4 separate regions of the Homo sapiens genome follow, and regions 1, 2 and 3 are each linked to region 4. Evidence: promoter capture Hi-C in 16 types of primary human blood cells and fetal thymus (Javierre and others, 2016). All regions are on one chromosome and are shown on one strand. The core of a region is centred on a gene start or on the middle of the fragment in contact, and the rest is flanking DNA. Distances in the headings are between cores, read along the strand shown.

Region 1 (6,093 bases), core at 3,311-5,810, 400 kb after region 4:
TGTGCTTATTAGCAGGGCTTCTTAGCCTCTCAGCAGTTTGCTGATGCAAAGGGACTTTGAAGGAATGATGTCTGTTTCTTCTTCTTCTTTTTTTTTACTTTAAGTTCCGAGATACATGTGCAGAATGTGCAGGTTTGTTACATAGGTATACATGTGCCATGGTGGTTTGCTGCACCTGTCTACCCATTGTCTAGGTTTTAAGCCCTGCATACATTAGGTATTTGTCCTGATGCTCTCCCTCCCCTTGCCCCCCACCCCCCTACAGGCCCCTGTGTGTGATATTCCCTTCCCTGTGTCCATGTGTTCTCATTGTTCAACTCCCACTTATGAGTGAGAACATGTGGTGTTTGGTTTTCTGTTCCTGTGTTAGTTTGCCGAGAGTGATGGCTTCCAGCTTGATCCATGTCCCTGCAAAGGACATGAACTCATTCTTTTTTATGGCTGCATAGTATTCCATGGTATATATGTGCCATATTTTCTTTAGGAGTGATGTCTATTTCTTTGGATGGTGTTTTACAAAGTCTGTTTCCTTTTCTTCTCAGGAGTTTGCAAACCCCCAGGGGAGTGTGCCTGAGTTTTTTTCCTTCTCTCTAGCTGGGGTGATTGACAGTGGCTGTTACAGATGCCTTGAAATCTTTCTGCCTCCCATCCACCAGTTTTGCTGCTGCCCCATAGATAAGTGTTGTCCGCTAGGATCAGGAAGACATTGGTGGAGAGCTAAGGTAAGGCAGGCTTTGCAGGCACACCCCCTTTTTTTTCCTCAAAAAGATACTTTGTAAAAAAGTCTTCAGTTGGTTCTTTCTTTTGAAACCTTTCCTCCTGTGGTTTTTGGTTGTGTGTCCTGTTGCTGAACTGTGGGCCTGTGATTCTTGGGCCTGGCAAGTGTGTGCTGAGGTGTTCCTTCCACGCCTCCCTGTTCTTGGAGGCTGAGCTTTGAGCAGACCTTTGCGTGTTTACACAAGTTTGGGATTTTTACTGGGGTTGGAGAGGTGTCTGGAGATGGAGTTGCTCTGGGCAGAAGTTTGAACAGAAGCTGTTTTGTGGGAACACAAGAAGCTGATCTGAGAAAGAGAGACAGACAGATAGACAGAGAGAGGGGTGCATGACCGGCATGGAGCTGTGTACTAAATACAAAGGAATGGTATTACCAGCCTAGGCTTTAATGAAAATGCTGTGTAACACCATTATGGGAAATGATAACTTCTGTTGTGCCCAAGGAATGGAAGCGGCTGGAAGGGTGCAGTATGGGATGTGCATGGTACCTGCAGTGATGGTAACGCCTGGAGTGCTCTTAAAGTCACAACTCCCCTTGGCTGGGTGGCCCATCACACCTGCTCCCTCCTTTCCCGCCTGCCATGGGGAGGTGGCAGAAACTTTGCTGGCGAGGTGAAATCAGCCTTCCTCTCCCAGGGTTCAGACTCCTTCCTGAACATCTATCTGGGCAGTGGTGATGACAGGGCAGTGCCTTTTTGAAAGAATTATTACGGCAGAAAAGAGGAAGAAAGCCAGGTTCAGACATCTCCCTTGGCTGCAGGCAGAAATCAGCATTCAGTTGTCTAATCTGTAGACTCATCAAACATAAATTATTCTGGATGGCTTTTCTCTCTGTATAGCTTGCTATAAACTTTATGATTTATTTTTATTTTATTTTTTGCCAAAGACAAATAAAAAATGTTTAAACAAAAGAAGGGGGGAGCCCCCAGACGAACCATGTGGAAAAGTTCAGTGAAGAACCCCCTAGGATTCCTGATAACCAAGAATAATCCCAGAAGAGTTTGGAAAGTGAGTTGGATTGTAACTGGAGCTGGAATTGGCTTCCAGGGCAGTCCCCTACTCCCTGTTCAGATTCATTTTGGAACTGAAGCGACAGCAGCCATGTAGACTTTTCTGCATGCATCCCAGAGTCTGGCTGTTAAGCCGAGCTTCAGTAGATGCCACCGCAGAGCCTTGCGCCAGGTCTGAGAAGTTTGCATGCTTGGGGTTTATCAGGGTGTGGCTCGTGCCATTTTGGGCATTGCAGAAAAGGAGTGGGGCTGTTTTGAGTATTCAGAGAAAATGAGTGAATCAATTAAAAATAAATCCGGGACATGCCATTCCCCCCCCCCGCCCCCTGCCCCCATTGCCTGTCCCCGTCCCCACCCCTTGTCATTGCATTGTGAACTCTTGGACTTGATAGTGAGGTTGCTGGTTGCTCAGGCTGTAGAAGGAAGAAAGGAGAGGAATGGTGTCTATAAGCCAGCTGTGCTGTTCAAAAACATGTTTTTTACTTTTTATTTAAGTAAACTTTTTATAGAAACTTAACGCACATACCGAAGAGCGCGCAGATGTTAACTGGGGAGCTCTATGAATTTCCATGAAGTAAACACACCTGGGGAACCAGGGCTTAGCTCAAGAAGTACAGCATTGCCAACCCCAGAGCCCCGGTGGTGCCCCCACTCCATCCTCCCCCTGCCCCCCGCCACTGTTCTGACTTCCAACATCACAGATTCCTTTCTTCTGTTTTTGAACTGGCAAGAATGTCTGGCTCCTTTTACTCCACGTTAAAAAGATCTAGTTTCCACCTCATCTTCCAGGAGGTGGGTTGTAGGATAACCCTCCACCCACTTGGGTTGCAAGGACAACTCCAAAACCTTGGCGACCCGACCTCCCACAAGCCTTGGGCTCCAGACTCCAGCACTCTTGTTCCAGGCGCCCTTGAATGAGCTCGTCTGTTTTCCAGCAGAAATCGTGGCCTGATGCCACCTGGAAGACCCAGTAGCATGGAAATAGGAGTCCAGAGCAGGCTGTAAGTGTGAGCTCACAGGGAGGGCAAGTGAGATTTGGAGAGACCTGCCACATTCCCCGCAGAGGACGAATGACGTTTACATCCCTTAATCAGAGTCAGAGGCATCCCACCCAGGCAACTGAGGTGTGGGCCTCTTGTGGGGAGTGGGGCTGGCCAGAAGGGAGGGGAGAAGTGTGGCTGTGGAAGGTGGCTCATAAGAGCTTTTATAGAATACACTTGTGTTCTAAAAGGGAATAAAAGGAAACATAGCCCTTGGGTCATTTTCTATGCTAACTCATTAATAAGCAGTCACCCACAGGTTTCTCCAAGTGATTCCTTGTTCAGTTTTTCTTTTTAGTTTGAGCCAACATTTGGGACTATTAGTTTCTGACTGTATCAAGTACTCTTATCCCAAACTTACTTCTCTTGTGCTTTAAGGAATGCTTCATGAAAATATTTTGTAATTTGGTGAGTAAGATGACTGTTTCCTTTTGGGTTTTGTTTCTTAATGTTAAAGGAACAAATCTTTCTCTGTGTGTATGTATTTTTACAATGAGCAGCGCTATGCCACCTCTCCCCTAAATCATCTTGGCCGCTTTCGTAAGTTCTCCAGGCATATTTACTATGGTGACACTTTAAGCAATTGGTTCTGAAGAAAAGATGCCAATAGAAAATATACCCACATTCTAAAAGGACCTCTCAGTTCCTTCCCTGCAGAGTGTGTGTTCTAAGATTGTGCAGATATAAATGTAAATACCAGTACACTATACATCTACATCTCTAGCGATGAACAAACATGGGATTCTGCTATACATATTGTTTTCCAACTTGCTCTTTCCCTTCTGACTCTATTGTGGCTATTCTTCCGTGTCAGTACGTTCTAACTCCTGAATTCTTTTTAAAGGCTGATGTGGTACTATGGCTATATTGCATCATAGGAGGGGACCTCAGAAAGTTTGTGGAAAGACATAATTAAAAGATAAAAATATAAACTTTACTCCTCAACATAAGCTTCATCAAGTTCAAGGCACTTTGGTAAGCGATGATACCAACCATTTAGTCCATCCCTAAAGAACTGAGGGTTCTGGGAATTTAACCATGTCAATGTGTTTTTTACATTATTAACTGAAGAAAAACATTTGCCTTTGAAAGATTTTTAGGATTAGGGAACAAAATCAGAAGCCAAGACTGTAAGGAGGCTGCCTCATGGCTTCCCATTGAAATTCTCAAAAAATTGCCCTGTTGGATGAGTTGAATTGAGCAGGAGCATTACTAGGATAGAGGAAGACTCTCTGGTGAAGCTTTCTGGGGCATTTTTCTGCCAAAGCTTTGGCTAACTTTCTCAAAACCTCTCATAATAAGCAGACATTATTGTTCTTTGGCCTTCCAGAAAGCTAACAAGCAAAATAGCTCTCAAGTATCCCAAAAAACTGTTGCCATGACCTTTACTCTTGACTGGTCAACTTTCGCTGTGACTGGACTACTTTCACCTCTTGGTAGCCATTGCTTTGATTGTGCTTTTTCTTCATGATTGTACTGATTAAGCCATATTTTATCATCTTTTTTTTTTTTTTTTTGAGTCTCGCTCTGTTCTCCAGGCTGGAGTGCATTGGCGTGATCTTGGCTCACTGCAACCTCCACCTCCCAGATTCAAGCAATTCGAGTGCCTCAGCCTCCCGAGTAGCTGGGATTACAGTCGTGCACCCCCATGCCCCATGACTGTATTTTTAGTAGAGACGGGGTTTCACCATGTTGGCCAGGCTGGTCTCCAACTCCCGACCTCAAGTGATCCACCCGCTTGGCCTCCCACAGTGCTGGAATTATAGGCATGAGCCACTACATCTGGCCCATGTTTCATTTAATACAGTTCTTCAAAGATATGCTTCAGGATCTTGGTCCCGCTTGTTTAAAATTTCCATTGAAAGCTCTGTTCTACTGTGTAGCTGTTCTGGGTGCACCAGTTTTGGCATTCATCAGGTAGAAACTTCAGTTTTTCAGTCAGAATTGTGTAAGCTGAACCAGTTGAGATGTCTGTGGGTTATTATTTCTGTTGTTTATCATGGATCCTGTTTAATTAGGGCACAAACGAGATTAATTTTTTCCTCAAAAGTTGATGTGGATGGTCTGCGGCTGCAGGCTTCATCTTCAACACTGTCTTGCCCCGTCTTAAAATGAGTTAGGTGTTTGTAAACTGCTGATTTTGGCAGGGGGCATTGTTCCCATAAACTTTTTGTAAAGCATCAGTGATTTCATCATCCCTTCACCCAAGCTTCATCATAAATTTGATGTTTGTTCTTGCTTCAGTTTTAGCAGAATTCATGTTGCTCCAATAGGGGCTTTTTTCAAACTGATGTCTTATCCTTCTTAGTTCCTCAAGCTCGATCCTGTTCAGACATGTTATAACAAGTTAGTATGAGTTTATTTGGGTACAGAAAAATTTTAAAATCCATGCATAATTTTTTCATAATATGCATTTTCACAAACTTTGAAGATCCCTTTCATTTACCTATCTCCTCTTATAGACACTTGAGTTCTTTAAAGTTTTGGACTTTTACAAGTGATGCTATAAATAAAAAAAACCCAGCCTTTTATGTGTTTCTCCCTGCATTTATATATTTCTAAGGCTAGATTCCTAGAAATACAATCAGTGGGTCCAAAGGTAAGCTCATTATAAATTGTGCCAGGTGCTGTCAAATGGCCCTAGAGAGATGGTACCAATTTATACTCCCACCAGTAGGGTCTGAGGGTGCCAGTTTCCTCACCCTGCCAACCCTCAAGAGTACTCATCTTTTCAACTTTTGCCAGTCGCATTGTTCTAAACAATGGCATTTCACGTGCATTTGTTTACCTGCTAGTGAGGCTGTGCATCTTTTCATTTATTAGCCATGTTTATTTTTTGTGCCATGCTTGTTCGTTTTCTTTATTCATTTTTTTCTTGGTTTGTTTGCAGTTCTCTTAAGGAGTTCCAATTAGGGACATAGAGGATTGTTTTAAAACACACATTTAGAAAAAAAAATCTCGATGGGCATTTCTGGCTATAAAACTCTATAAAAGACCAAGTACTTCTTCTTTCTGGCATTGAAGGCTTTGGTTTTCTGCTTTGTTTTTATTTAATTAGGTGAAATTTTTCCTCCTGGCTGGAGAGTCCGGCTGTCTGTAAATGCATTATCATTTGTGCAGCACGGGGTAGATTGTGATCTGAGCTGGAAAGTGAGCCATGCCAGGCAGGGGTTGGAGCCTGTTGGAGCTGATTATCGCGGGTGTTCAGTGCAAAGCTGAATCTCTTGCCCCGTGTCTCTTAAAAACCATGGTCTCTCATGTTGTTAGCA
Region 2 (5,732 bases), core at 2,042-4,541, 350 kb after region 4:
ACTATTTTTTTTAAAGAATAGTGTGAGGGTTTATTCAATTTAAAAAATTCGCTTTTTAAAATCAGGAAAAGAAGAAAATCCAACAGTAAAAAAAGCCATTAATCATTAACAGGTTGCATTCATTAAGATGACACAAACAATTTATCAAATACCTTTATGACCAACATTATTTTATAGCAGATCCTGACTGTTATTAACTTTTGGATCTGTGAATCTGGGCCCTACTGCCAAGGCATGTTACTACTGACCTACTGAATTCTCTTACCCTTTTATCACGTAAAATGTTCTCTAACGTAAATTTTTCATTCTTTGTTAGTGACGGTATGACAAAGAAGAGTACTCTACCTGTAATTTGTCTTTCGACAAGATAAAATGCTTTATTTAAAAATGCAGGCTGGGCGCAGTGGCTGACACCTGTAGTCCCAGCACTTTGGGAGGCCGAGGTGGGTGGATCAGAGGTCAGGAGTTTGAGACCAGCCTGGCCAATATGGTGAAACCCCATCTCTACTAAAAATATAAAAGTTAGCCAGACGTGGTGGTATGCACCTGTAGTCCCAGCTCCTCGGGAGACTGAGGCAGAAGAATCTCTTGAACCCGGGAGGCGGAGGTTGCAGTGAGCTGAGATCGCACCACTGCACTCCAGCCTGGGTGACAGAGTGAGACTCCGTCCCAAAAAACAAAAAGCAAAAATGCAGTATTCTTTTCCTTTAAAAATGTGTACATAAAAAGGATTTGGATAAAGTATGATGAAATAATAGGAAACAAGGCCAAATTCTGATAAAATAAAGGGAAATTGGTGAGGCTTGGAACATCAAACCAGTCAGAACGTGGCCACAAGAGGGACAGGGCAAGTAGATGGAGAACAGCCATGTCAAGTTTTCCTTGAACCTTCTCCATCCAGCGTTTTTGTTCTGCAATTAAACAACCAGCTCAGAGATGTCCAAGTTATATACAGTCTTACTTTTACCCACCTCATGTAATGGTGAAGCCATTTATTTAGTAAATACAATATCAGAAAGGGTATATATATTAGGAGACCCACTTCCACAAAGGGGTTGGGAACTCTTTTTCAGAAATAGCATCATATAACCTGGGAAGTACTGTGGAAATCCAGGCACATTTTCTTGTAAACTGTTACTTGAATTCAAAACCAAATTCTATTCCTTTCTATGTACAGCGAATCCCTGGGATCCTTGGTAGGGCAACCTCCTAATCCATAAGGCCAAGCAAGGGCTGTTTCCTGTTTTCTTCCTTTAGTTCAGAGGCTCATGCTGTCCTGAGGTAAAGCTTGAAGACCTTGCACTCTTTCCTCCTACCAGGCATTTGGTGTTTTCTGATCCCGTGTGGTCCCAAAGACCCGAGGGTCACCATGATGGAAGTCTCCCTGCAGGGACTGGGCCTGCTGGGCTTCCCTTAGTTCCCTTTCCAGTGCAGCTGTCTTGGACTTTTCCAAATTCAGCTGCTGCTAGAGCTCTTCTGCTTTCCCCAGGGAGGGCCAGGGCCAATTTCTGACCAGAGCTGCTGCAGAAGGTCTCTCTCCTGGATCAGGGTGGATCATGTGCTTGAGCAGACTGTAAAAGTCTTCTGAGAGCTCCTGAGGAATGTCTGGGAAGTTACTCTCATGGTTATGGTGCCTTGCAGCACTGTTGATGGGTAATGTCCTTACTCCTTCAGCCATTGCAGTGATTAATCCCAAGGCAAATAGGTCTGCTTTGGGAAGGTACTAATAATCCTCTTGCAAAATCTCATTTGCTAGGCAGCAACTATCTGCTTTTTCCACTTTGAGTTTGCTTATTGATGTCACATGGCCTAGGTCACCAATTTTATATATCACATGGGCAGAGAGAAACTAATCAGCTTCATTTTCAACTTCTGTGACTCCAGAGGAGTCACTTTGCATCTTGTGACAAAGGAAGGTTTTACAAGGTTTCATGTCCGGGTGCACCATGCCAGAGTTGTGGCTGTATTTAAGTTCAAGGGAAATCTGTAGAAGGATGTCCTTGAGTTTTGGCTCTTGGAAGTGATTAGTAGACTTAGTGTTTTCAGATATAGCAGCCTGCAAGCTCCTGCCATTGCAGTATCCATTCTGAATGATCATATGGTTATCTTCTGCCTGTAAGGGGTAGTAATGTACCAGGTGGGGTGATGTCCAAACACTGTATGAGCATAAACTTCACGCAAAGCCAAATTCTCAGGTGAAATCCTGAAAAAGTTTTCATATAGTGCTTTATTGCATAAACACTTCTATCCAGGCTTTTAATGCACTTGTAGACTGTACCAAATTCACCAACCCCAATTTTTTCTACCTCCGAGCATTCTTTTTTATAGTAGGAAGCCATGTTGGTTTCTCATAGAACACATGTCTCAGCAGGCAGCCCTTGTTCTTCCTTGCCTTCCTCTGGACCAGCTTCCTCAAGATCATCTCGAATTTTCCTCTTGACACTGGATTGAAGGAATAATTTTCTATAGGACTTTGGGGTGAAGGGATTAGTATTGACCAGAGCCAGTGAGGTCATCTCATCCTTGGGAGGAGTGGATGTGAGCATCAAATGCTTAGAGCCTCTGGAAGGAGGCTTTGCTGTTGGAGAAATAACGTCTGGCTCAGCGGGCTTTTGGGAGTAGAGGGGCTGGCACCATGTGGCTGCTTGTTCCTGTTGCCTGGTTGGCCTGGTGTCTCAGGATATTTGAGAAGGTGTGACACTGGAGTCCTCAAAATCTGATCTGGATCTTCTTTTTCTTTTTCCCGAGGTGTGTTGAGTTCATGCACGTTACTGAGAGGAGTCCTGGGCAATGTAAGCATTGCCTCTGAATTCTGCACTTCACTCTTCTCTGGGATCTGGCTCTGGGCCTCCCTGCTTCCCTGTGCTTTCTTTTGCCCTACATTCTGAGTCTCTTCTTCCAAACAGGAAAAGCTTAATTTCTCAGTTTTAATGTTTTAATTTAATTTATGTTTAATGCCTCAGTTTTTTGTTAATATTTCTGTCATCCATCTCAGCCAAAGAGCTTTACAACATAGGCAAGATCTATTGCAAGAGAACACCGTGATTCTGCAGAAAGAGGAGAAAATTATTTAACCTGGCAGGTTTCACAACTCTAGCCTGCCTTTCCCTCTACCAGCTAACATCTAGCTGTTTCAGATGGTTAAATTCCTCACGTGTGGCCTCATCATTTGGTAACTGGCAGATGGGACTCTGTCGTCTACAGATCTGTTTACGAACAGCCCTTTCCTAAGTGCATATGGTGTGCGTACCAAGTCCCCGGCTCAGAGTCACGATTTTATACACAGGTTCCAGCCGTGGAATCCACATGCCTCAGACTGGGGGGCACTTCCCCCTCAGGACACCGAAGCTCAGAGAGAGGAAAGAAATCCCTAATATTCCAGATGCAGCCAGGATTTCAACCCAGGCCTCTGTCTTCTCGGTCGAGGTCCTTCTCACTTCATGTCCATGGAGGCTTCTCTGCTCACGCTGGTGTGAACCCCAAGGGGCTTCCCCTGAAAACTCATAATAGAATCTTTGAACAGCTGCCCAAGAACAGATTTCAGATTTTCAGCCATTTTCCTCTTTTAATGGAAGCTCTGACTGGCTAGTTGGTTAATGGGTCCCAGGTTCTCCCAAGCCACTTAACTTCCTAATTTTCAAGCATTATCCATGGAGAAAATCCACTCTGCAGAAGCTTATGACTTAATGAGCTCAGTCAAAGTCAATCTGAAGTTGCAGGCAGCAGCTTTGATCATTGTGATAGGCGTTTTGGTTTCCACCGAGCAGAGAATGGGAAAAAGCTTTGCCCATGATTTATTAATCACTTCCTTGGCTGAGCTTTCTTGCCTGGCTCTCCTGGGAAGCACCAGTGTTGAGGTTGCTCAGGGTTCAGCCTCAGCATGGGCTTTAGGTGTCCATAGGCCCCGTGTTGCCTTGTTTCTGGAAGGCTTTGCTGAGCTGGAATGCAGCCAGATGTTGGAACCAGAGGTGCACACCTTGAGTAAACTCCTCTCTGCTTTCAAGCAGCCCTTGAGGCCCCTTATTGGCAGAACCAGCTCCTCCAGGGAGGAGGCATGTGGGGCCCACGTGCATGCGTGGAGTTTTTTTCAGAGACCCACTGATAAAATATTTACTTCAGTGACATGGTACCAAGTCCTGCTTTGTTTATTTTAAAAGTCTTAATACAGCATTAGCCATGAGGATACCGGCTTATTTGCTTTTGGTTTCTTGCTTGTGGTTTTTGTTTTTATGAGGAGCAAAGAAGCTAGGCCTGATCTTCTGGGAAAGTAGCCTGCTGTATGTTAGCCACACACTGGAAGAGGAAAACTGTTCTGTGTGGAGTGCTTACTGTGTGCTCCGGGTACTGTCCTTAGTGCTTTTAGGTCATTATTTAATCCTCTCACAATCATTCAAGTAGGTGTCACAGGTTAAATTGTGTCCCCTGAAAAGGTACACTGAAGCCCTAAAACCTGGTACTTGTGAATGCAAACCAATTTGCAAATGGGGTCTTGACATATGTAATTCGTTAAGACACAGTTCTGTTGGACTGGAGTGGGCCCTAATTCCCATGACTGGTGTCTTTGTAATAAGAGGGGGTACACAGACACTCACAGAGGGAAGATGGCCTTGTGAAGACAGAGGCAGACACTGGAGCATGTAGGTGCAGGGCAAGGAATGCCAAGGATTGCCAGCAACCTCCAGAAGCCAGGCAAGGAAGGATTCTGCCCTGGAGTTTTCAGAGGAAGCATGGCCCTGCCGACACCTTGAACTTCTAGCCTCTAGAATTGTGAAAGAACATATTTTTGTTGTTTTAAGCCACTCAGTTCGTGGCAATTAATTACAGCAGCCCTTGGAATTAGTATAGTTAGAACTACTTAGAAGAATATTAACCCCATTTTATAGATGAGTACATCAAGGCTGAGAGGTGTTAAGCATCTTGCCCCAGGTCACTCAGTTCATAAGTGGAGACAGACAAATCAGGTCTTGCATAATGCCGCTGCCAAGTCCATGCATTCATTTTCATGATGGAGCCAGCAAGGTGGTAACTTTCTAATGCTGGGTATCTAGGACATCTTAATGAGCAGTTTAGTCTCAAAGGGAGATTGCCCAGTTGCAGTTTAGATCTGCTTCTAATCCTGGATTTGGCCAGAAGATTCCTTGATTGACTCTGGGGGAACCTTTACCTTTATAGAGAGGATACAGGCCTGGTATTTTCTGTCCAGGGGATCTAAGCATGGGGTGGAGTATGCCATCTCTCCCTGGTGCTCAGCCAGGCCTGTGGGTCATCAAGGACCCAGCCCATTCTGCAGAGAGTTTAGACAGCTTGCCCAAAGTCTATCTGTAGTTGGAAGAAGCATGACTGGAAGGGAGATAATGAAAGGGTGCCATTTCTTCCTGATCTCTCTAATTCTGCCTGTACCCTTACCCCCATCTGAACTCCCACCCCTGCCTACACTACCCTTCCATCTGGGAGAGAGAATAGTAGGCAGGGGTCATGTTTTGGAAAGGATATTATTTCAAGGGCGTTGGGACCCCAGTGAAAGATTTTATTGAGGGGAGTGACATGACCTGTTGGACACTGTGGTGGGCTGATTTGCATCCCCAAAACTCATATGTTGAGCCCTAACCCTCAGTACCTCAGAAGGTGACTGTATTTGGAGATAGGGCCTTTAAAGAGATAATTAAGTTACCTGTTAGGCTGTTAGGATAGGCTGTAGCCCAGTTTGACCTATGTCCTTGTAAGAGGAGGAG
Region 3 (6,146 bases), core at 303-2,802, 460 kb after region 4:
ACTTTCCTTTCTCCCCTTTTTACTTACTTATTCAACAATTTTTGGTATCAGTCTCAGGTACTAGATCCTTATTTTGTTGGCCTCAGATATTTATTTTATTCTCTGTGTCATAATCTGATACCGTTGTTGATTTTGTTGCTTGGATGGTTCTAGCTTTGGCTATTGGGAACTTCAGGTTAACTTCTGTGTCCTTTTGACATGCCCCCATGATATTTGGACACTTATTTACTTTATTTTGACACTTCTGGCAACAGAAGATACTCTGGGTTCATCTTGTTTGTATATTCTTCCTGGAATCAACTATTTCTCCAAGGAGGTTGGTTCTCTTTGCTGGATAATGGTATTTAGAAACCAAGATCTGGGTGCTAGGTGTGCTTATTGCTGTTGAGATGTACTGCTTCTAGTCTTCTCTCAGCAGACAGAGCTAGGAAATGTATGTATGTGCATTATCCCTTACATACACACAAGTCAATATTTATTTTTGTCTGTCTGTCCATCCGTCCATCCATCCATCCATCCATCCATCCATCCATCCATCCATCCTGTCTGTCTAATTTTTAAAGACCTTGAGTTCATACTGGTGACCTCCAATTCCTTCAAATTTCCATTGGAAATTTTGGTTCAGTTTCAATGAACCAAAGCCTCAGGATTCACTTTAGCCTTCTCACTGTCTTTTTTTTTTTGAGATGAGTCTCTCTCTGTCGCCCAGGCTGGAGTGCAGTGGCACAATCTCAGCTCACTGCAACCTCCACCTCCCGGGTTCAAGCAGTTCTCTGCCTCAGCCTCCTGAGTGGCTGGGACTACAGGTGCCCGCCACCACGCCCGGCTAATTTTTTTGTATATGTAGTAGAGACGAGGTTTCACCATCTTGGCCAGGCTGGTCTTGAACTCCTGACCTTGTGATCCACCCACCTCGGCCTCCCAAAGTGCTGGGATTACAGGCGTCAGCCAATACGCCTGGCCTAGCCTTCCCACTTTCTTTATTTGCAACTTCTTTCTCTGACAGAAATCTTACAATATATTTACATATTTGTTCACCCCTAGTGCACCCAGAAGACAGTTTCAGAATTGATGACCCATACCCTTGGGAGAAACAAATATAACTAGTGTACAGTATTGTAGATTTTTTTTTTCTTTAGCTTTATGGAATCTAGTCAACATACTGTTTTCCTGAGTTACTTAGGCTGGTTCTTTTCTTCCCCATCCCCTTCAGTGTGGTGGTGTTATTTACTAGTAATACAGTTATGTTTACTTGTTATTGTTTATATTTCATTTTGAGTTTTCCCCACATGTGATTGATTTTAAGTGTTTATTTTTGGGGTATATAAAATACTACCGTAGTTCTAAGATATACACTGCTCTGAGTATATTTACACAAGTATATGTTAAGTCAGATAGATATACTCGGAGAAATGTGTAACCTTCTCATCCTGTTATCTTGTCTGATATCAGTTCCCCATGTTTTTTCACTCCTTTCCCACTCACACCCTGTAGATAACCAATCTCTTTAGTTTCTGGTTTATCCTCCTGTATTTCTTTTGCACAGATAAGCCAATACATGTATGTTTTCTTATACCCCTTCTCTTCTTATATGGAGGGCAGCAAAGTACTGTTACGGGATCTTTGGGGTATCACTTTGCCAACTGGAAATTTCTGTGGCCAGTGACACCTTTGCCCAAGTTTTGCTCTGGCCTGCTGGGCTTCTCTGCCTACTTGACCTGGCAGGCTGCGTTCGGCTCCCACTACCAGCCTAGATCCCATACCTGCCAAGGGCAAGCCAGTTGCAGAACAGTGAGGGTTGTGTGAGCGAGCGTGGAGTTCAGCCACTGCACAGCCAGGTATGCCAGCTGTGGTGGGGCAGGCAGCTCCAGGCACCAGCATGGGTGCCAGCTCCCTGCAAGGCTGCAGGTGGACCAGGCATACCTTAAGCAGCTTCCATGGCTGACACTGGGGAATGCAGTGTGGTGCCCAGAACCTTGGAGACTTCAGCAACCACAGAGCCCTAAAGAGTGTATCACAAACCTGGCTTGGGGTTGCTCCTAGGTCTGGGCTCCCCAAAGGGCCACAGCTCTTCTCTTCCTTCTTCTCTCCTCTTGTCTGCTGCGACATGGTGGGCAAACAGCATGTTTCAGCCCTGTTTGTGTTATAGCTCTTTTAGCCTTGCCATTCAGTGAGTCCCTAGTTCTTGTCCTGCATCCGGGAAGAATGAGGTACGCAGACAAGTGGAGGGTGAGCAAGACAAAGGGGAACTTTATTGAGTAATAGAACAGCTCAGAGGAGACTCACAGTGGGCAGCTCCTCTCCGTAGCCAGGGTATCTTGATGAGTGTTCAGCTCTCAGCAGAGAGGGTAGCTCCTCTCTGCAGCTTGTCCTGTTGTCTCCTCAAGTCTGGCTGAGTCCGGAGTTTTTATGAGCCTCAGAGGGGAGGAAGTGCATGCTGATTAATCCATGGGCAGGCCTGGAAAAGTTCCCACTCCAGTCTGCGGGACCCACAGCCTGGCCCTCAGGCCTCAGGCCTTCCCTGGCTTGAAGATTGGGCTTCACCTGGGACCTACCCCTTCTGCCTAGGAGCATGTCTGCCTCCTGCTGCCTTTCATGGTGCCCAGGTTTGTACCAACGGGCACCTGCAGGGCAGTGCCAAGCTGTCTTCAGCACCCCCTTGGTCTCCCTCCCATGTTTGTCTTCACCCAAAGTCCGGAGGCGGCTGAAGTGGCAGGGGACTTGTGTGTCAGTGCTGCCCTGAGCGTGCACACATCCGGCTGGGTTGCAATAGTTCCCAGGCTCATCCTCAACTTTGCTCCATGATCTGAGTGGGTGCTGACAGCAGGGAGAGGCCAGGGAGCTGGAGCAGACACCTCTGAGCCTGTGGGAGTAAGGGGGGCCCAGGGAGTGCAGAGATGTCTGCATCTGCAGCTGCAATTTGGGTGGCTGCAGCCATGCCCAGAAGGGTGGGACTCCTGCCTGCTCCATGCTTCTGCTGACACTGTAGAGTGTGGCACTGCCCTGGGCCCAGCTCTGCCTCAGTGCCCCTCTCTGCCTGCCTCTCCATGACCGACCACACTGCTTCCCTACCAGCGGACGATTCAGCTTGGCCCTGTCACAGTGGCTCCCAGGGTGGCGGGCAAGGTGCAGGTGGTACGGCAGCCCCAGTCAACCCCACACAAATGAACCTGACGCTTCCAGGGCCAGTCCCATAAGTCCCAGCTGTGCCATCAGCTGGGTGCTCGCAGGCCCCTGGGATACAGCGGAGAGCGAGGTTAAGACTGTGGCAGAGGCTTCAGGTCTGGGAGCGGATCCTACCAGGCCGTGTGAGGGTGGGGTTTTTGGCTCCCTCAGGGACGCAGGGCACAGGGGACCTACTGCCGCCACTGCTGCTCCTGCAGCCACTCCTGCTGCCACAGCTCACGCTTCCTTACTGCAGCTGGTGTGATGGCAGCGGCCACTCTGAACAGCCCACTGCTGCCATCAGTACTATAGATACTCTTTTCTACTTTACTTTTTTGACTTATCAGTATGTCCTAGAAATCACTTCATACCAGTTTATAGAGACCTTTCATAATAAGCTTTCTAAACTTTGGTCATCAGAAAAAAATTTCTGTCAGCCCAAGGATCAGTTTTTAAATTCTATGAACTTAGTGATGATGAGGAGGATGAGGATGAGGATGAGGATGATGATAAATAGCATAAGCATTACCATTAATTGAGCATCTACTGTATTCTATGCTCTATACTGTTTTGTATAGATTATCTCACTTAATCTTTGCTAGAGCCCAAGGTAGTAGATATCACCTCCAATTTACTGATAAGTGCTGTGGATACAACTGGTTGGGGCTGATGTTGTGGGTGGTGAAAGAATACCGAGACAGTCATAGGTAAAGAAAGGCAGATTTGTTAGCGAAAGTACAAAAATATGTTGCATGGGTGCAAGAGGCAGCACAGCAGCGAAGGGGCTATCTGCAAAGCCACAGGGGCTGGAGAAAAGTTTTATAGGGTCGTGCTAGACTAGGGGCCTACTTGTGGAACGAGGTATTTAATGAAAGGATGTTGGGCCAGTGGGTTTGTGATTAGCCATTTCTTGGAACAATTGTTCTCCCCGACTTGGGCCCTCTTACTTGTTGTTGCTTACTTATCAGGATGCCACAGTAAGGAAACTGAAGTCCACCAAAATTTAGAAACTTGTCCAAAGTCATAAAAAATAGAGTTGGAATTTGAACCCAGGACTGTCCAGAGTTTATGCTTTGAGAAGAGTTCACCAGTACCATGACAGAAGTTCCAAGGTGAAACAAAGCCACATGGGTTTTTGAAACCTGGAACATTTCAGGCCTTAAAACCCTGATGATTGTGAGTTGGCTGTTGCCAAAGTCAGCATGTTACAGACAGCAAGAACATGGAGGTAATTTATTGCCTGTTTGTTTCAAAGAAATGGCCCTTCCTTCTTGGAGGACCATGGGTCCTGCCTCTAAGACAGAAGACAAGAGGGATGCTACATAGGGCCTGCTACCTGGGATGTAGCAATAGGTCTCATCTTACATCTCCTAATCGCAAGCCGGAGCACCAGAACCATTAACGGGAGAGTACATTACCCCACAGGGCTGTTTGTTATTTAGCAGGACACTCAATTAAGCCCAAGTTACAGCAGTTTCTGCTAAAACTGTTTGTGCAGCATGAGTGGAAGAAGAATTTATTTGGAGCAGGAGTCTGCCTTCTGTTGTGAAAAGTGACAGCCTCTGGCAGAGAGAGAGGCAATGCTGTTGAGTTGGTTGAAATCAGGGCTTCTGGAATCTGCATGCCGGGCCTCACCCGGTGCTTGATTTTCCAGCTGTGTGACCTTGGGCAAGTCACTTCATCTCTCAAAGCGCATTTATGAAGTGGTGATAAGAACCATACTCATTTGTTTGGGGCTCCCAAGACCACCCCAGATTCAGCGATTTGCCAGGAGGATTCACAGGACTCAGTATATGATCATACTCATGGCTGTGATTAATTACAGCAAAGGGATACAAAGCAAAATCAACACAGGTAAAAGACGAATGGAATAAAGTCCAGAGGAAACCAGGTTCAGGCTTCCAAGAGTCCTCTCCCAGTTGAGCCCAAAGGATGCACTAATTCCCCTAGCAATGAGTTGTAATGTAACAACATATGTGGAAGGTTATCCACCAGGGACACTCACTAGAGACTCAGTATCCAGAATTTTTATCAGGGGCTGATCACGTAGGCACCCTCTGTTCAGCATGTACCAAAATTATAGCCTCCCAGAAGTAAGGAAAGCAGGGGTGTTCAGTGTAAGTTGTACTGTTTGCATAAACAGTTTAGGTACAGTGAGCCACTCTTGTTAGGTAGGGTGGTGCAAAGTCTCCCAAAATCCAAGTTCCCAGACTCCAGCCAAGGAAGAGCCAACCTTGCAAGGAGGTCTTTGTAAGCGTAGCAGTTGCGGTTCTGTTTTGTTACCTCTTTTCTGCCCATCATCCCATTGGGTGATTGCTGGGTGGATTAAATGAGATGATCCATACAAAGCTCTCAGCACACTTCCTAGTATGGTGAATACTTACTGAATGTTGATTACAGTTCCTTTGACATTCAGGGAATGAATTTTGATTGGTGCTTCAGCACCTTCATCTACTCGTCATCCATTTACTTACCTGTTCTTCGTTCATGGCTTTGTTCAGCACATTTTGATTGGCACCTGCTGTGGTGCAGGGGCTATGTTATCCTCTTGGGTACTTTTGAAGCATTCCTCTCTAGACAATGTGGCGTGTGGGTGTCCAATCTGGCTGGGTGTTTGAGGTGGGTGGTGGTAATGAGAAGAAAGCTTCAAGGACTTTAAGATGAATCTTAAGTGGACTCATTTTCACATTCAGTGTTAGTGGGATGAGTATGCAGTCATCTGAGAACATCTCCTGATGTCTTGCTGTTTCTTTTTCTTCCTGCAGCCAAGGCTAAGTCGAAATGTGGCCCAACCTTCTTCCCCTGTGCCAGCGGCATCCATTGCATCATTGGTCGCTTCCGGTGCAATGGGTTTGAGGACTGTCCCGATGGCAGCGATGAAGAGAACTGCAGTAAGTGCTGCGCACTTGAACACTGTGATCCCTTGTTCTTTCCCGCCAGCCAAACTTGTCCACATTGGTCACCCTCATCATGTGCTTCTT
Region 4 (5,355 bases), core at 2,856-5,355:
AAGGAAAAAGAACAACAACAGCTATACTATAGTGAACACTTAGATGCTCTTTTAAGCACTTTAAATATAAGCACTAATTTAATCATCACAATAATCTATAAGATTTGTTCCTATTACTAGTAATCATGAGATATTGTATATTGTTATAATTTTTGTTAGTAATACTAGTAATACTGTTCTTATTGCATTTTACAGATATATACACTGAGGCACAAAGGGGTTAAGTAACTTACCCGAAGTCACATGCCTGGTAAGTGGCAGGACTGGGTTTTAATGAGACAATCTGGCTTGACAGTTCACACTCTTAACCATTTCACTTGGGAACAAACCCCAGAGAACACATGAAACCAAAATTTCATCTCAGTTGAATCTATTTTGATTTAATGTAATAATTTCTGCACCTGACATTTCCCTAGCAGTTTATAATTTACAAAAGGTTTGGTCCCCATCATTTTGGAATCGCAGCCCTGCCACTTCCTTGCTGCATGACCTCATTCCACTGATTGGCTAAGCTTCCACTTCCCCATCTGTAAAGTGGGTATAATAATACTTTTGGGGGGGTTTCATGAGATAAAGCACATGCAGGGTTTAGCTCCACACCGAGCCCATAATAAGAGTTCAATAAGTGTTTGCTGCCACTGATGCTGTGGTTATTATTAATATTTCACTTGAGCTGCATGACAACCCTGTGAGTTAGGAAGGATTTATTAACTTATTTCTCAGGTTCTGAAACTGAAACTCACAGAAAGTAAATAACTAGAACAAGGAACAAGCCAGAAAGTGCTAATGCCAGACTTGGAAAATATTCCAATTCCAAGCCTCCTCCCCTGCTTCCAACCCTCAACTCCACCTCCTCTCTTTCCCCCAGGAGGCACCATTACATGAACCAGATCATTCTTCAAACAGGACTGTGGAAAAGTTTGAAGATATTGGAAGTTCAGGCTCAGGGATAAATTCTAAGGAGTATTAAGAAAGTCATAAAAGTGCAAATGGATTTCTCATCCCCAAGCAACTGCCAGAGGGCAGAAGTGACTGAGGTGATTAACTATGCTACCCCACAGAGCCAAAGTGGTTTGGCCACAGGTGGCAGGGGAGTGTCCTCAGTCCAGAAAATAAAGGAGAATGGGAGTATTTTCATCTAACAGCTAAACAGAGGCATGTTTTTAAACCCTGTCTCAAATAATCAAATACCATTCCAAAACTGCATTCCACTTTGAGGAAGGGGCAGTGTTTGTTCCTTTGGTTTTCTGTATTTCTGCATTTCAATTAATTTGTTAAAGTTTAACAAATTAATGCATCCTGTTCTGGTACATGATGCATTCAGTCCTATGGCTATAGGCAAAGGGCTGCTCAATGATAAAATTAGTCCATCTTATGAGGTGTACGATCTTAGTCAATTTATTTAAGTCTGGGTTTTTTTCATCAGTACCAGCAATATGGTTAGGAGATTCCAGGATTTCTAGTCTCTGGATTTGAAGCCAGCCCTCCCAGAATTAAAATCATGTGCTTCCCCTCACATCTATCATGCAAAACCCTCACCAATATTTTTTCTTTTTCAAATGAGTGGAAGTTCTTATTTTGTATTCTTTAATCAGCTGAACAATAACTCACAACCGTTGGACAAAATTGTTTTGCATTATTTAGTAGTAAGGTATTTAATTTAAAAAAACTTGATACATGCTACTTGCATCTCATTAGCATTCTAACGATGTATTCAGCAAATTGTTGTTGAACACACACTAAGTGCCAGGCATTGTGCCCAGGCAGCCATAAAACAATGGACAAGACAGACTCCCCAGGAAGTTTACAATGGTAGTTACTTACAGCTTTTGTTAGCAGCCAAAAAGACAGAGACCCCAACTACTTTGGATTTCTCCATATCCCCTAGGACATAGCTTGGTACACAGTAGACATTTAATAGTCTTCCGAATTTAACTTCAACAATTAATCATCCAGTTAAAAATGTCTACTTTTCTCCAATTAGATGATACTCTACTTATGCCCACTAGGTGGCGATCTTGCTTATAGTTTGCCCACGCTGAAAGAGGCTGCCTTTCAAATAAATACATATATATCCCAGTAGAAGTTAAACCAAAAGACAAAAAAATTAAATTTATTGAGTGCTTATTTAGTGTAATATACTATGTTAGGTGGTATAAGAAATAAAAAAATAAGACATAGTCCCTGCCTGCTAGGGAAAGATGAGGAGGGGCTTACATAGGCCAAAAAAATAAGACCTTTGAATGGATTAATATATTTCGATGCAACCATATGGGAGCCATAGTAATCTCATTATCAGATAAGAGTTATAAAATGGCATGGTATAGCCACCATGTGGTTGGGAACAGATTCAACAGTTCATCCAGTATGTACTTAACCACACCAGTGAAAACACTTGACTGTATCCTGGGTCAGTGCTGCAATACTCCAAATGTGGTTTTTTGATGCCTCTGCTCAGCCATAAACATAAGAGTGTCTGCTTTATCACCCTGGAACGCTCTATCACCCTAGAACGTTTTTTCTTTGGAGAATAAAACATAATCAGTGCCAACTGATGAGGTAGTCCAGTTGAAAACCCCCATGTGCACCTGATGGGAAGATGAAAGGAGAGAAAAGATACACACCATGTAAGGAAACAGATTTCAAACTCTGGCCTTTGAGAGGTGGATTCCACCATGCCCCTGATCTTGTGTCTACCCTGGGAATCTCAGTGTGGATCTGGGACTCATTCTGATACAGAGAGGTAAGGGAGGGCCGACTGGCATCCAAGTTTTCCTGGTAAATGTAACCCAGAGGTGGCTGGAAGATGTGTTGGGGTGAAGAGGTTGTTCATTTTGTTTTCTTTGCTCCTTCACCACCTCCCTCCCCCACCACCACCACCATTTCTTTTTCCCTTAAATCGTAAAAGCAGTAAATCAAATGCAGTATGGGATTGAGGTTTTTTTCCTTTCCATTTGAAAAATCCTTTTAATTGAAAAATCACATTTGGGGAACAAAGTGGTCAAATGACAGTGAATTTCAAACTTGAGAATGCTGACTTGATTAAAAAAAAAATACTGATCTTTCTTAATGGAGGGAAAATCAAGTGCATGCGGCCAGGAGACCTGAGTTTGACTTTTAGCTTCGCCCCTTGCTAATTGTGCAATCCTGAGCAACACCCATCCCTTCTCTGTGCCTCAGTTTCCTCATGGACAAAACGGTATCATTTCTTTCGAAAAGTCGTCCCTGACTCCCCTCTCCCCAACACGAGGTTGGATGGCTATAATCTCTCTTAGCAACCTGAGAGTCCCACTGGAATGTAAATTTCAGCAGCACTGGGACCCGGATCTGTGGATTTTGCTTCTGGTAAGCAGAACCAGAACTGAGGGGCAGTCGCTGTGTTGAATGGATGCATGAATGAATGGGAGATGGCCTAGGTGTTCAAGGGGCACGTGCACAGCGAGGCTTCATTCCCTGGGAGTCCGTTGGGAAAGGCAGAGCGGCCAATACTGATTGGTGCTGATGTGCGAGCTCGGAAAAGGGAGTGTCGGTTCAAAGTTGTTGGCTACAGCGGGTTCCTCTTTCCGCTGGAATCACATCCTCTGTGGCTCGGAGACATTCCCAGAGATTTACATAAAGCAGCGTGAATCACCCAGACAGAAACTGAGAAAGCAAAGGGACCCTGCCTGATCCTAGCCTGGCGGAGCTCGGAAAGAGGTGGAAATCTGTCTGAAGTTTGCAGGAGACCCGCGCTGCCTAGGCAAAGGGACCCGGCGACCAAGACACCCCCGCGAGGGCCCAGGGCGCGTCCCTCCCGCCAGGCCCCAGACTCCGGCTCTGCGCCACCCCCTCCTACGCCCCGGCGCGGGCGCAGCCAGTCCGGCTTCCTCCAGGCCCCCAAGTCCCGGACCGAGTGTGGGGCCGCCTCTCCCTCTCGGAAGGAGCCATCGCCGCTTTAAGTGGAAGAGGAGAGGAAGGGGGCGGGGGAGCGGGGGGCGGGGAGCGGAGGCGGAGGAGGGGGAGGGGGATCCCCCTGGCTCCCACGTGGTCCGGGCGCCTGTGAATCGCGCCCACCGGAGGGTCTCACAGCGAAATACAAAAGCAGCTGGGAAGCGGCGGGGACTCGAGTTCCCAGCGCCGGGCGGAGCGCCGGACAGAGCCCCGCAGCGCCCCGCGGCCGCGATGGGGCCGAAGCGCCCGAAGCCCCGGAGCCCACAAACTGCCGGGCCCGCCTCGCCGCCGGGACCCGGGTGCCTGGGCTCGGCTTGAAGCGGCGGCGGCGCACCGGCACAGCCGCGGGAGCATGGGCAGGAGGATGCGGGGCGCCGCCGCCACCGCGGGGCTCTGGCTGCTGGCGCTGGGCTCGCTGCTGGCGCTGTGGGGAGGGCTCCTGCCGCCGCGGACCGAGCTGCCCGCCTCCCGGCCGCCCGAAGACCGACTCCCACGGCGCCCGGCCCGGAGCGGCGGCCCCGCGCCCGCGCCTCGCTTCCCTCTGCCCCCGCCCCTGGCGTGGGACGCCCGCGGCGGCTCCCTGAAAACTTTCCGGGCGCTGCTCACCCTGGCGGCCGGCGCGGACGGCCCGCCCCGGCAGTCCCGGAGCGAGCCCAGGTGGCACGTGTCAGCCAGGCAGCCCCGGCCGGAGGAGAGCGCCGCGGTGCACGGGGGCGTCTTCTGGAGCCGCGGCCTGGAGGAGCAGGTGCCCCCGGGCTTTTCGGAGGCCCAGGCGGCGGCGTGGCTGGAGGCGGCTCGCGGCGCCCGGATGGTGGCCCTGGAGCGCGGGGGTTGCGGGCGCAGCTCCAACCGACTGGCCCGTTTTGCCGACGGCACCCGCGCCTGCGTGCGCTACGGCATCAACCCGGAGCAGATTCAGGGCGAGGCCCTGTCTTACTATCTGGCGCGCCTGCTGGGCCTCCAGCGCCACGTGCCGCCGCTGGCACTGGCTCGGGTGGAGGCTCGGGGCGCGCAGTGGGCGCAGGTGCAGGAGGAGCTGCGCGCTGCGCACTGGACCGAGGGCAGCGTGGTGAGCCTGACACGCTGGCTGCCCAACCTCACGGACGTGGTGGTGCCCGCGCCCTGGCGCTCGGAGGACGGCCGTCTGCGCCCCCTCCGGGATGCCGGGGGTGAGCTGGCCAACCTCAGCCAGGCGGAGCTGGTGGACCTAGTACAATGGACCGACTTAATCCTTTTCGACTACCTGACGGCCAACTTCGACCGGCTCGTAAGCAACCTCTTCAGCCTGCAGTGGGACCCGCGCGTCATGCAGCGTGCCACCAGCAACCTGCACCGCGGTCCGGGCGGGGCGCTGGTCTTTCTGGACAATGAGGCGGGCTTGGTGCACGGCTACCGGGTAGCAGGCATGTGGGACAAGTATAACGA

The links. Contacts are between HindIII fragments. The CHiCAGO score rates a contact against its expected background, and 5 or more counts as called.
Region 1: a fragment that was not itself captured here is called in contact with the fragment with the promoter of FJX1 in region 4 in 2 of 17 cell types (M0 macrophages and M2 macrophages); the score reaches 5.3 in M0 macrophages.
Region 2: a contact is called between a fragment that was not itself captured here and the fragment with the promoter of FJX1 in region 4, in 2 of 17 cell types (M2 macrophages and endothelial precursors). The highest score is 5.8, in M2 macrophages.
Region 3: a contact is called between a fragment that was not itself captured here and the fragment with the promoter of FJX1 in region 4, in 1 of 17 cell types (endothelial precursors). The highest score is 6.0, in endothelial precursors.

The regions. Positions count from the first base shown.
Region 1 is chr11:36,013,212-36,019,304 of GRCh38, forward strand. The region is part of intron 1 of LDLRAD3 (low density lipoprotein receptor class A domain containing 3); the gene reads left to right. Among named protein-coding and RNA genes, the nearest start is that of MIR3973, 6.2 kb to the left of the region's middle. RefSeq lists an enhancer at 4,558-5,757. The HindIII fragment of the contact is 942 bases long and covers 4,090-5,031 here.
Region 2 is chr11:35,965,754-35,971,485 of GRCh38, forward strand. All of the region lies in intron 1 of LDLRAD3 (low density lipoprotein receptor class A domain containing 3), which reads left to right. It also overlaps the pseudogene WEE2P1. Among named protein-coding and RNA genes, the nearest start is that of LDLRAD3, 25 kb to the left of the region's middle. The HindIII fragment of the contact is 763 bases long and covers 2,911-3,673 here.
Region 3 is chr11:36,075,723-36,081,868 of GRCh38, forward strand. It overlaps LDLRAD3 (low density lipoprotein receptor class A domain containing 3), which reads left to right. Exons shown (of 6, transcript NM_174902.4): 3 at 5,931-6,056. It overlaps LOC101928510 (a long non-coding RNA gene), which reads right to left and starts at 2,179. Exons shown (of 2, transcript NR_135064.1): 1 at 2,023-2,179. The HindIII fragment of the contact is 4,017 bases long and covers 1-3,561 here.
Region 4 is chr11:35,614,355-35,619,709 of GRCh38, forward strand. FJX1 (four-jointed box kinase 1) reads left to right here and starts at 4,106. Exons shown (of 1, transcript NM_014344.4): 1 at 4,106-5,355. The coding sequence starts at 4,283. RefSeq lists silencers at 3,694-3,783, 3,814-4,143, 3,965-4,126, 4,224-4,293, 4,314-4,573 and 1 more and enhancers at 4,426-5,060, 5,061-5,355. The HindIII fragment of the contact is 8,334 bases long and covers 511-5,355 here.